Regions from separate parts of the Homo sapiens genome. Here regions 1 and 3 are each linked to region 2. Evidence: promoter capture Hi-C in human tissues and cell types (Jung and others, 2019). All regions are on one chromosome and are shown on one strand. Each heading gives the region's core, a stretch centred on a gene start or on the middle of the fragment in contact. The rest is flanking DNA. Distances are from core to core; before and after follow the strand shown.

Region 1 (3,245 bases), core at 383-2,882, 240 kb after region 2:
GCTTAAAAATGGCATACTCCATTTTCTGGTGTATTCATTGTAACTTTAGGAAGTATTTGAAATGGTCACATTAAAGTCTAGGAATGTCAAATTGTATTTTAATGCGTTAGTTCTTTTTCTTTTTCTTTTTTTTTGGAGACAGTCTTGCTCTGTTGCTCAGGCTGGAGTACAGTGGCATGATTTCGGCTCACTCCAACCTCTGCCTCCCAGGTTCAAGCGATTCTCCTGCCTCAGCCTCCACAGTAGCTGGAACTACAGGCCTGTGCCACCACGACCCACTACTTCTTGCATTTTTTAGTAGAGATGGGTTTTCACCGTGTCGACTAGGCTGGTCTTGAACTCCTGACCTCAGGTGACCTGCCTTCCTCAGCCTCCCAAAGTGCTGAGATTACAGGTGTGAGCCACCGCACTTGGAGTTGGGTTTTTTTTTTTTTTTTTGAGATGGTGTTTTGCTCTTTTTGCCCAGGCTGGAGTGCAATGGCATGGTCTCAGCTTGCTGCAACCTCCACCTCCCGGGTTCAAGCAATTCTCTTGCTTCAGCCTCCCAAGTAGCTGTGATTACCGGCATGCACCATCAGGCCTGGCTAATTTTTGTATTTTTGGTAGAGAGGGGATTTCACCGTGTTGGCCGGGCTGGTCTCAAACTCCTGACCTCAAGTGATCTGCCTGCCTCGGCCTCCCAAAGGGTTGGGATTACAGGCGTGAGCCACTGCACTGGCCTGCATTAGTTCTTATTGTCCTTTGTCATTACGGTTTTGCCCATGAAAACCAAAATGTTGATGTCTATGTGACCCTTTGAACGTGTTAAATATTTCCATATGTAAATGGGGGCAAAATTGACTTAATGGTAAATTACTATATTTGATGAAAATTTTTATAAATGAACCAGTACTAGTACTTGAATGTGAAAATATTCTATTGTAAGTTTGTTTTATTAATTTATTTTGTGGATTACAGTAATGCTTTTGTTGGCCTGTTGTATGACAAACTATTTAAAGGTTCACATTTTGATTTGTATTTGCCAACAAGCCCTTTTGCTTGTTAAAGCTATAGCTAACTCTCAGGAGATAATTGCAGTTCTACTCTTAGAGGATGGTGTCTTTCAAATAATGTCTTGTCTGCTGATTTTCAGTAATGTTAATATAAGGCAAAAGGGATATTGTTTACTATACGTAGCAATTTTTTTAGACAGAGTCTTACTCTGTCGCCCAGGCTGGAGTACCAGTGGCGGGATCTTGGCTCACTGCAACCTCCGCTTCCCGGGTTTGAGCAATTCTCCTGCCTTAGCCTCCCGAGTAGCTGGGACTACAGGCGCACGGTACTATGCCCGGCTAATTTTTGTATTTTTATTAGGGACGGGGTTTCACTACATTGGCCAGACTGGTCTTGAACTCCTGACCTTGTGATCTGCCTGCCTCGGCCTACCAAAGTGCTGAGATTACAGGATTTTTTTTTTTTTTTAAGTATGATTATGTACCATTGTATCATAGTAAAACTAGCCAAAGAAATTTATGAAAGGATGAAAAAATGATTCTGGCCATAAAAGGTAGTATATTTTGGTGGGTTCTTAAGCCAGCATGATAATGGCGAGTTTTTTTCTTCTCAGGAGGAAAAAAAGCAAGAGCAGAAGTCGTAGTCATGAACGAAAGAGAAGCAAAAGTAAGGAACGGAAGCGAAGTAGAGACAGAGAAAGGAAAAAGAGCAAAAGCCGTGAAAGAAAGCGAAGTAGAAGCAAAGAGAGGCGACGGAGCCGCTCAAGAAGTCGAGATCGAAGATTTAGAGGCCGCTACAGAAGTCCTTAGTATGTAACTATAGTTATGATTTTGGTTTGAGGGTTATTCTCTGGGTATTCAGATGGCAGTTTAACTTGAGTGATTTGAATTGTGAATTTTTATTTTTTTAATGATTGGTTAAAAAGTATTGAATTAAGGATATTGGCATTGAATACTAGTAAAGTGAAAATACAGTGCATAGACAAATAAGTAAAAATTTGCTTTTACTAGGCATACTGACTATTTTCTGTTAAACTATCAGAGTTTCTAAATTGTATGCCAGTCAACGCAAACTGGATGAAAGCACTAGAGTGCTTGAAAAAGATGACATTGTAGTGCCCAAATACCTAAGAAAGCTTAACAAGTGTCTGGGCTGTTACAGTATTTGCTAAATACATATTTACTTAAAATTGTAAAGTTCTGATGAATACTAAGTTACACATGTATAATTAGTTAACAGTAAATAAAAAGTCTGTCACCGTGGCTGTTTTCAGCTGAAATGTCAGGCCAGTTGTGAATTTGTTGTGTATGCTCATTGATAAAGATCCTTTTTTGGGCTCATCTGTATTTAAGGTTTGTTAATAATAATAAAAGGTATTCCAAACTAAAAGTGTTTTGAAGATTAGATCACTAGAAATTTGGATGTGGATATTTAAAGTTGGAAACAAATATATTATGGTTATTAAATAACTATATTAACCACCTACAATTCTAAGGATTGCATCTAGCAATCTTTAATGCTTTATGAGGTTAATTCCTCTTAATAAACACAGTGCTGTAAACTCTGGGATATATTAAAAATAACCCTTCTAACTTCTAAGATTTGAATGGTTAAGGATGGAATTCAAAGACAAACAGACCCGAATCACTTGGGCAAGATACTTAATCCCCTAAGCTAAGCATTTGTTTTCTAACCTTTTAAGGAGATAATAAGTTTCAGATAAGCTATTAATGAGTAATGAATGAGAAGAAAATGTAAAGTGCTCAGAGGACTTAATGGATTCATGAAATGTTTTGGCATTACATGAATTCCGATTCTGGCTCTTTTATCTTTAAAATAAAAAGAATTAAACTCCGTGATGCTGGTTTCCTCCAAGCTGCTTATTTCATTAACTTTTTAATAGCTGAAAATGGGACCACAATGCTATTTTAATTTCGAATGCTGTACAACATTAGGAACTTCTCTGCTTTTGTCCCATTTATCAAGATTCTGAGCATTTTTAAAATGGGATTATGTTAAATCTTTTTACCAGGATGAACTAAATAAGGGGAAAGGAATTAGCTTAATTCCTTTGAGTGATGGATACTTTGTTTGCTGGGATCATGGCTTAACTTTAATAAAAAATTACTTAGTTCTTAATGTTGGGTTTGAGGCTGTAACTCAGAATATTTTATAATTAAAGGGGAAAGAAAATAGCTTATAACTAATTACTTGAGAACTGTAATACATCCAGTAAATGATTCTCAGTCATC
Region 2 (3,101 bases), core at 594-3,093:
AGAGTGAGACTCTGTCTCAAAAAAATAAATAAAAACAAACAAAGGAAAAAAGAGAATGTTCTTTTTAAAGTGTATCATAAACAAAGTGAGACAACGAACTACAGACTGGAAAAATATACTTACTATGCATATAATCAACAAAGGATTACGATCCAAAATTTATTTTTTGTAATCCTACAAATCAAAAGAAAAATACAAATAACCCAATAGCAAAATGAGCAAAGGTAATTCAAAGGGAAAGTTCAAATTACCTATAAATTGTGAAAATATTGTTTTTATTCATTTGTATTTATATTTACATTGTTTGTAAAGAGGGGGTTTCACTTTGTTGCCCAGGCTGGTTTCCAACTCTGGCTTCAAGTGATCCTTCCACCTCAGCCTCCCAAAGTGCTGGGATTACAGGCATGAGCCTTCATGCCCCAGCCAAATTGTGAAACCATTTTTAACATTGCTAGAAATAATGGAAATGGAAATTAAAGTAATAACATGATACTATTTTGCACTTATCACTGGGAACTGGGAAACATGGTACAACCATGTTGAAGAGCAATTTGGCAACATTATATAAAGTTGAGGATGTGTGTACTTCACAATGGAAGAATTGTATGTACTTTATATGTCCTCTTCAGAGAAACATACATGTACAAGGGGATAGCCATGAGGGTAATCATGGCAACATTGTGTGTAACAGTGAATGGCTGAAAACAAATGTTCATTAGTAGGGATCGAAGGGATCAATACATTATGGTTCAGTCACAGGATTGAACACAGCACTAAGTCTGTGTGTGTCAATGTGGATAAAGCTGAAATGATTTTGAGTGGGAAAAAAGAACTATGATGCTATTTATGGTATCATTTTTAAACAGTGTGCCACATACTATATATTGTTTATGGATACATACACATGTGATAATATATAAAAATATAAACAGGAAGGGTGACACCAACTTCAGGAAAGTGGTTACTATTAAAGAGAAATAAAGGGGCATGGGATGGTAAAGAGCTTTCCCTACACCTGTAATGTTCTATTTCTTAAAAATTAGATATCTATGGAAATATGGGGAAAGGTACTTTATGAATAAAATTAATACTTACTGAGTACAATTTACTATTGTCAGGCATTATCCAAAGCACTATTCTGATATGTAAATCATTTAATCAGTAAATTTATGCAGTAGGTACTAGTATTATCATCTCACTTTACAGAGGAGAAAATAAAGGCACAGCAAACCAAGCAACTTGCCTGGGGTCACATGACTAATAGGTGATAGGGATTTAAACCTAGGTAGTCTGGCTCCAGAGTTCACAAGCTTAACCTATGACTCAATGTTGCTACCCTGACTCTATCCTCCCTCGTTCTCTCTGGATCTCATAATAGCAGGAAGAGTGGGTACAGAACAGGACTCAGTGGCTCTGAGTGTGGCTTATGGCTTGCCCAGTGTGGGGGGCTGGTAGGCTACAGGGCAGGGGTCCCTCCTTTGTGCCATGCTGTGACTCCAAAAGGTACAGGATGGCCACCATTCATCCAAGACCCCTCCTACACCTGCATCGACCTTCCTCAAAACACCTGTCTGTTCAGTCTTCTGCTCTTCCCTCCCAGGGCCCTTGCCCCTCCTCACCAGTTCCTTCTTCAGGAGCTGCCAGGCATAAGTTACCATATGTCTCCTCATGGTTCCTGTGCAGGCAAATGGCACAACTAGCCCCTTTGCCTTTCAAGGGGAGGACTACAAATTTTTCCCCAAAAATCCAGTAATACTAGAAACAAATAGATTTCCTCAGTAACAAGGCAAGAGCTCCACTCCACTCCTCCTACCATACCATCAGCTACTGGAAGCCCTGCTCTGAGAAAAATCATTCTCAGAATCTCCTAAGGTCACAATGAAAGATTCTGGAGGCAGGGGACACAGGGATTGGAATGTGGGAGTCTAACATTTATGGGATACTCACAGGCATTATCTCAGCTAATCCTCACAACCACCCAAACTTTTACTCAACTCCATACATAGGAGACTGGGGCTCAAAGTAGCTAAATGGCTGCCAGAGTCCTGGTGAGACAGGAGAATGGCACAACCCTGCTGACCAAAACAGGATCTAGGACCCCCTAGCTGTCCCCATCCCTCATTAACATAAGACACTCCTACCAGTGCCATGACAGTGTACAAATGTCTTGGCAATGACCAGGAAGTTGCTACCTCTTTCCTAGAAAACTCTAAAAACCCACTCCTTAATTTGCATTAACCTGCCCCTTAATTTGCATTAGCCTGCCCCTTAATTTGCATGTGATTGAAAGTGGGTAGGAATGCGTATACTACACTTGATCTCAGCCAAAAGGCTGAGAAGGGATTAGAGATGAGCATAAATACAGTTGCCAACATCTCATACACTGGGTATCGACTCCGGATTCATTGCCCATGAGTTAGCCCTGCCCCACAAGGAGAAGCACTATTCAATAAAAGATTGCTGTCTAACACCACTGGCTCACCCTTGAATTCCTTCCTTGGGCAAAGCCAAGAACTCTCCTAAGCTAAGTCTCAATTTGGGGGCTCACCTGTCCTGCAAAGATAGGGCTTTTTTGTTTTTTGAGACACTGTCTCACTTTGTTCCCAGGATGGAGTGCAGTGGCCCAATCTCAGCTCACTGCAACCTCTGCCTCCCAAATTCAAGTGATTCTCCTGCCTCAGCCGCCCAAGTAGCTAGGATTACAGGCGTGTGCCACCATGCCCGGCTGATTTTTGTATTTTTAGTAAAGACAGGCTTTCACCACGTTGCCCAGGCTGGTCTCAAGCTCCTGACCTCAAGTGATCCACCCACCTCAGCCTCCCAAAGTGCCGGGATTACAGGCATAAACCACCACTCCTGGCCAGGGCCTTTTTTTTTTTTTTTTTTTTAAGAAAGCAGTGTAGCTAAATGTCAGGTACACTTGCTCTCCATTTGTAGCATCCAATTAACAGAAGCAAGGTCTGGTCCAGCCTGGCCAATGTGGTGAAACCCCATCCCTACTAAAAATACAAAAAAATTAGCCGGGTGAGGTGGTGGGCACCTATAATCCCAGCTACTCGGGAGGCTGAGGTGGGAGGATCACTTGAACCCGGGAGGCAGAG
Region 3 (3,055 bases), core at 242-2,741, 130 kb before region 2:
TGCCAGAAACTACCAGGACAGTATAAGCCCTCTCTCTTTCCCAGAGCTTTCCCTAGACCCACCAAGGCAAGGCTTAGAGGGACAGGACCTGCTGAGAAATGCCACCCTGGCTGTCAACAGGGACACTGAAGCCTTGGGTTACATCTAGACTCCAGAGCCCCGCATGGTGGCCCTCCCACCAGAGTAGGCAGAGATGGCCATAGCCAGAGTGATAACAGAACAACCGGCCCATTCAGCCTGCTCACTCAGAGCCCAGGGACCCCTTTCTTGGGGTTCTAATCCTGACAGCAGGACACTCTCCTGTTGCATCCTCACCTCTGGAACATATGCAGAGCCCACTCCAGGCCTCTATCTGCCCTGAGCTCCTGCTTCTGGGCCTAAAGTTGCAACTAGGGAAAAAGCACTGTTCAGACTGAAGACAGGAGCCACAGATAAGGTGTTCCAATTACCACTGACCAGCTGTGTGACTTTGCGGGTGTCACTTTTTCTCCCTGAGCATGTTTCCCTCCTCAGGCTAATAAGGGCAACGGCAAGGACCATCTCTAAGGTCCTCCCAACTCAGACAGAGGCGACACTTCATGGGATGCCTCTGAGCACAAACAGGCAAAGAGGACCTGTCTCAGGAGAGGAGCGGGCTGGGCTGGGCTGGGCTCTGAGGAGAATGCAGCGGATATGACAATGGCCAAGGGTTATTATGATGATTATTATTATAATTAAAAATCACAGCTACAAGCCCTTAAGCAATTTACAAAGAGCTTTCTCATTATCTCCTGGGATCGCAATTTGGTGAAGTAGGCAGGGCTGGATGATGATTATTCACATTTGATAGATGAGGAAAGTAAAGCAAGATTAGGTGACTTGTCCAAGCTCCTAAGTGCAGAGAAGGGAGAGCTGGAAAGGAAGTAGGTATTGAGTGCCTACTGTGTACTACCTCATTAGGCATGCTCATATCTGTTATTTTGATCAAGTCTCATGACCATGACACTACTGTAGGTGCTACTGTCCCATTTCTTTGTTTTGTTTTGTTTTGTTTTTTCGAGACGGAGTCTTGCTCTGTCACCCAGGCTAGAGTGCAGTGGCACAATCTCAGCTCACTGCAATGTCCGCCTCCCAGGTTCAAGCAATTCTCCTGTCTCAGCCTCCCGAGTAGCTGGGATTACAGGTGCCCGCCACCACGCCTGGCTAATTTTTGTATTTTTAGTAGAGACAGCGTTTCACCATGTTGGCCAGGCTGGTCTCAAACTCCTGACCTCAGGAATAATCCGCCTCAGATCACTCAAATTTGAAATACAAATCTGATCAGATGATCTGCCCACCTCGGCCTCCCAAAGTGCTGGGATTACAGGCGTGAGCAACCATGCCTGGCCTACTGTCTCCATTTCATAGAGGCTCCACTGCAAAGCCTAAATTTGGATGTAGCCCTGTGGAACTAAAAGGCATGCACTCCTCCCCAACTTCCTGCATGTATTGGGTTGAACAGTGTCCCCTCCCAACCCAAATTTATGTCTACCTAAAACTTCATAATGTGACCATATTTGGAAACAGGGTCTTTGCAGATGCAATTACTCAAGTTCAAATGAGGTCATACTGGACTAGGGTGGGTTCTAAATCCCATATGACTGGTGTCCTTAGAAGAGGAAATGAAACAGAGAGAAAGCCACGTGACGACAGAGGCAGATGCAGCTGCAAGCCAAGAAATGCCAAAGATTGCTGGCAACCACCAGAAGCTAGGAGAAAGGCAGGAAACAGATTGCCCCAGAGCCTCCAGAAGGAGCCAACCTTGCTGACACCTGGATTTCAGACTTCTAGCCTCCACAAGTGGGGGAGTAAATGTCTGTGGTTCAAAGCTACCTGGTTTGCGTGCTTCATGACAGCACCCCTAGGAAGTTAATACACTGTGCATCCTTTGAGTAGCAGACCTAGGACCCTCAAACTCTGTTTTTCAGATTCCCACTCATTAGGCAGCTTTAGAGGTTAAAGAGGACCCAGAGGCTCCTCATGAGAAGTCACTCTCACCTCTCCTGCACCTTCCAGGGCCAGGCTGTCGTGAAACCAGGCTGAAGACAGGCTTACAGAGGAAAAAGCTTCCTAGAACAGCCTGTTCTAGGTATCTATCCACCCCAGTGGGGCCTCCCATTGAGCTTGTTTAGCAGCCTCTGTGCCCAGGTCTCCAGGTCAACAGTCCTTCCCTTCCTCCCAGACCAACCATCCTCTGTCACCACCTGGAGAGCTGTGTTTTTGAAATGCAAATCTGATCCTTCCTGGTTGGCTTACTCCTCTTCCCCAGCTCCCTGCCGTCTGCAGGACTTGCTCAGGCTCTTTGGCCTGCACCAGATCTGTCCCTAATCTTCCTCTCAGCTTTATCTCCAGTCATTCACTCCTCCACCCTCATCCCTGCCACTCACCACCTCCTATTCCAACCATGTGGAACTATTTGGGGTTCCCCTAAGAAGCCGTTCTGCCTTTGCACATGCTATTTCAAATACCCAGACGGTAAAATCCAGCCCAAACACCATCTCTGTCCTCCAGGAAGCCTTTTCCTCCATAAACAGCCACACCCTGGCAGCTTGTACATTGTCCTTGCGGTGGTATTGCATCTTTACATGTCTGCTCCCACCCCCAACCTGTGAATACTGCTGGATTCATTTCTGTTTTTGTAGGCCTAGGGCCCAATACAAAGGCCTTCAAGAATGTTGAGCTGAATTGTGGAGTAGCAATAATGGTCATAATAGTTGACATTTATCAAATGTTTCTTATGCACTCACATTATGCTAAGCATTCCAAGGATGTTATCTCATTTAATTATCAAAACAATCCTGTGAAACAGATACTAGTACTGGTCCTGTTTTACAAGTAAGGAAATGAGGAAATGGAATCACTTGCCCTAGTCCCCCCAGCTAGTACATGGCAAGCCCCGAATGACTGTAGAGCCAGTGCTAGTAACCACTACTAAGTGTGCCACCCATCCCAATACCTTCATTTTACAGAGATGGACACGTGCCAAAAGGGGAAAGTGATTGGCCCTCAGTCACATAACAAGGCATGGACGCAGATA

What was found. The method cuts DNA at HindIII sites, captures the fragments that hold promoters and counts their contacts. A contact is called where the count stands out against the background at its distance.
Region 1: a fragment that was not itself captured here is called in contact with the fragment with the promoter of CNBD2 in region 2 in 1 of the 25 tissues and cell types used here (IMR-90 fibroblasts).
Region 3: a fragment that was not itself captured here is called in contact with the fragment with the promoter of CNBD2 in region 2 in 7 of the 25 tissues and cell types used here (H1 embryonic stem cells, IMR-90 fibroblasts, aorta and 4 more).

Annotation. Positions count from the first base shown.
Region 1 is chr20:35,730,497-35,733,741 of GRCh38, reverse strand. RBM39 (RNA binding motif protein 39) reads left to right here. Exons shown (of 17, transcript NM_184234.3): 4 at 1,607-1,801. Among named protein-coding and RNA genes, the nearest start is that of RBM39, 10 kb to the left of the region's middle. The HindIII fragment of the contact is 3,333 bases long and covers 1-3,245 here.
Region 2 is chr20:35,967,332-35,970,432 of GRCh38, reverse strand. CNBD2 (cyclic nucleotide binding domain containing 2) reads right to left here and starts at 1,843. Exons shown (of 12, transcript NM_001365709.1): 1 at 1,620-1,843. The coding sequence starts at 1,670. It also overlaps the pseudogene LOC124904982. The HindIII fragment of the contact is 12,223 bases long and covers 1-3,101 here.
Region 3 is chr20:36,097,151-36,100,205 of GRCh38, reverse strand. It overlaps a transcript of EPB41L1 not described here. Among named protein-coding and RNA genes, the nearest start is that of NORAD, 48 kb to the right of the region's middle. RefSeq lists an enhancer at 1,970-2,478. The HindIII fragment of the contact is 5,126 bases long and covers 1-3,055 here.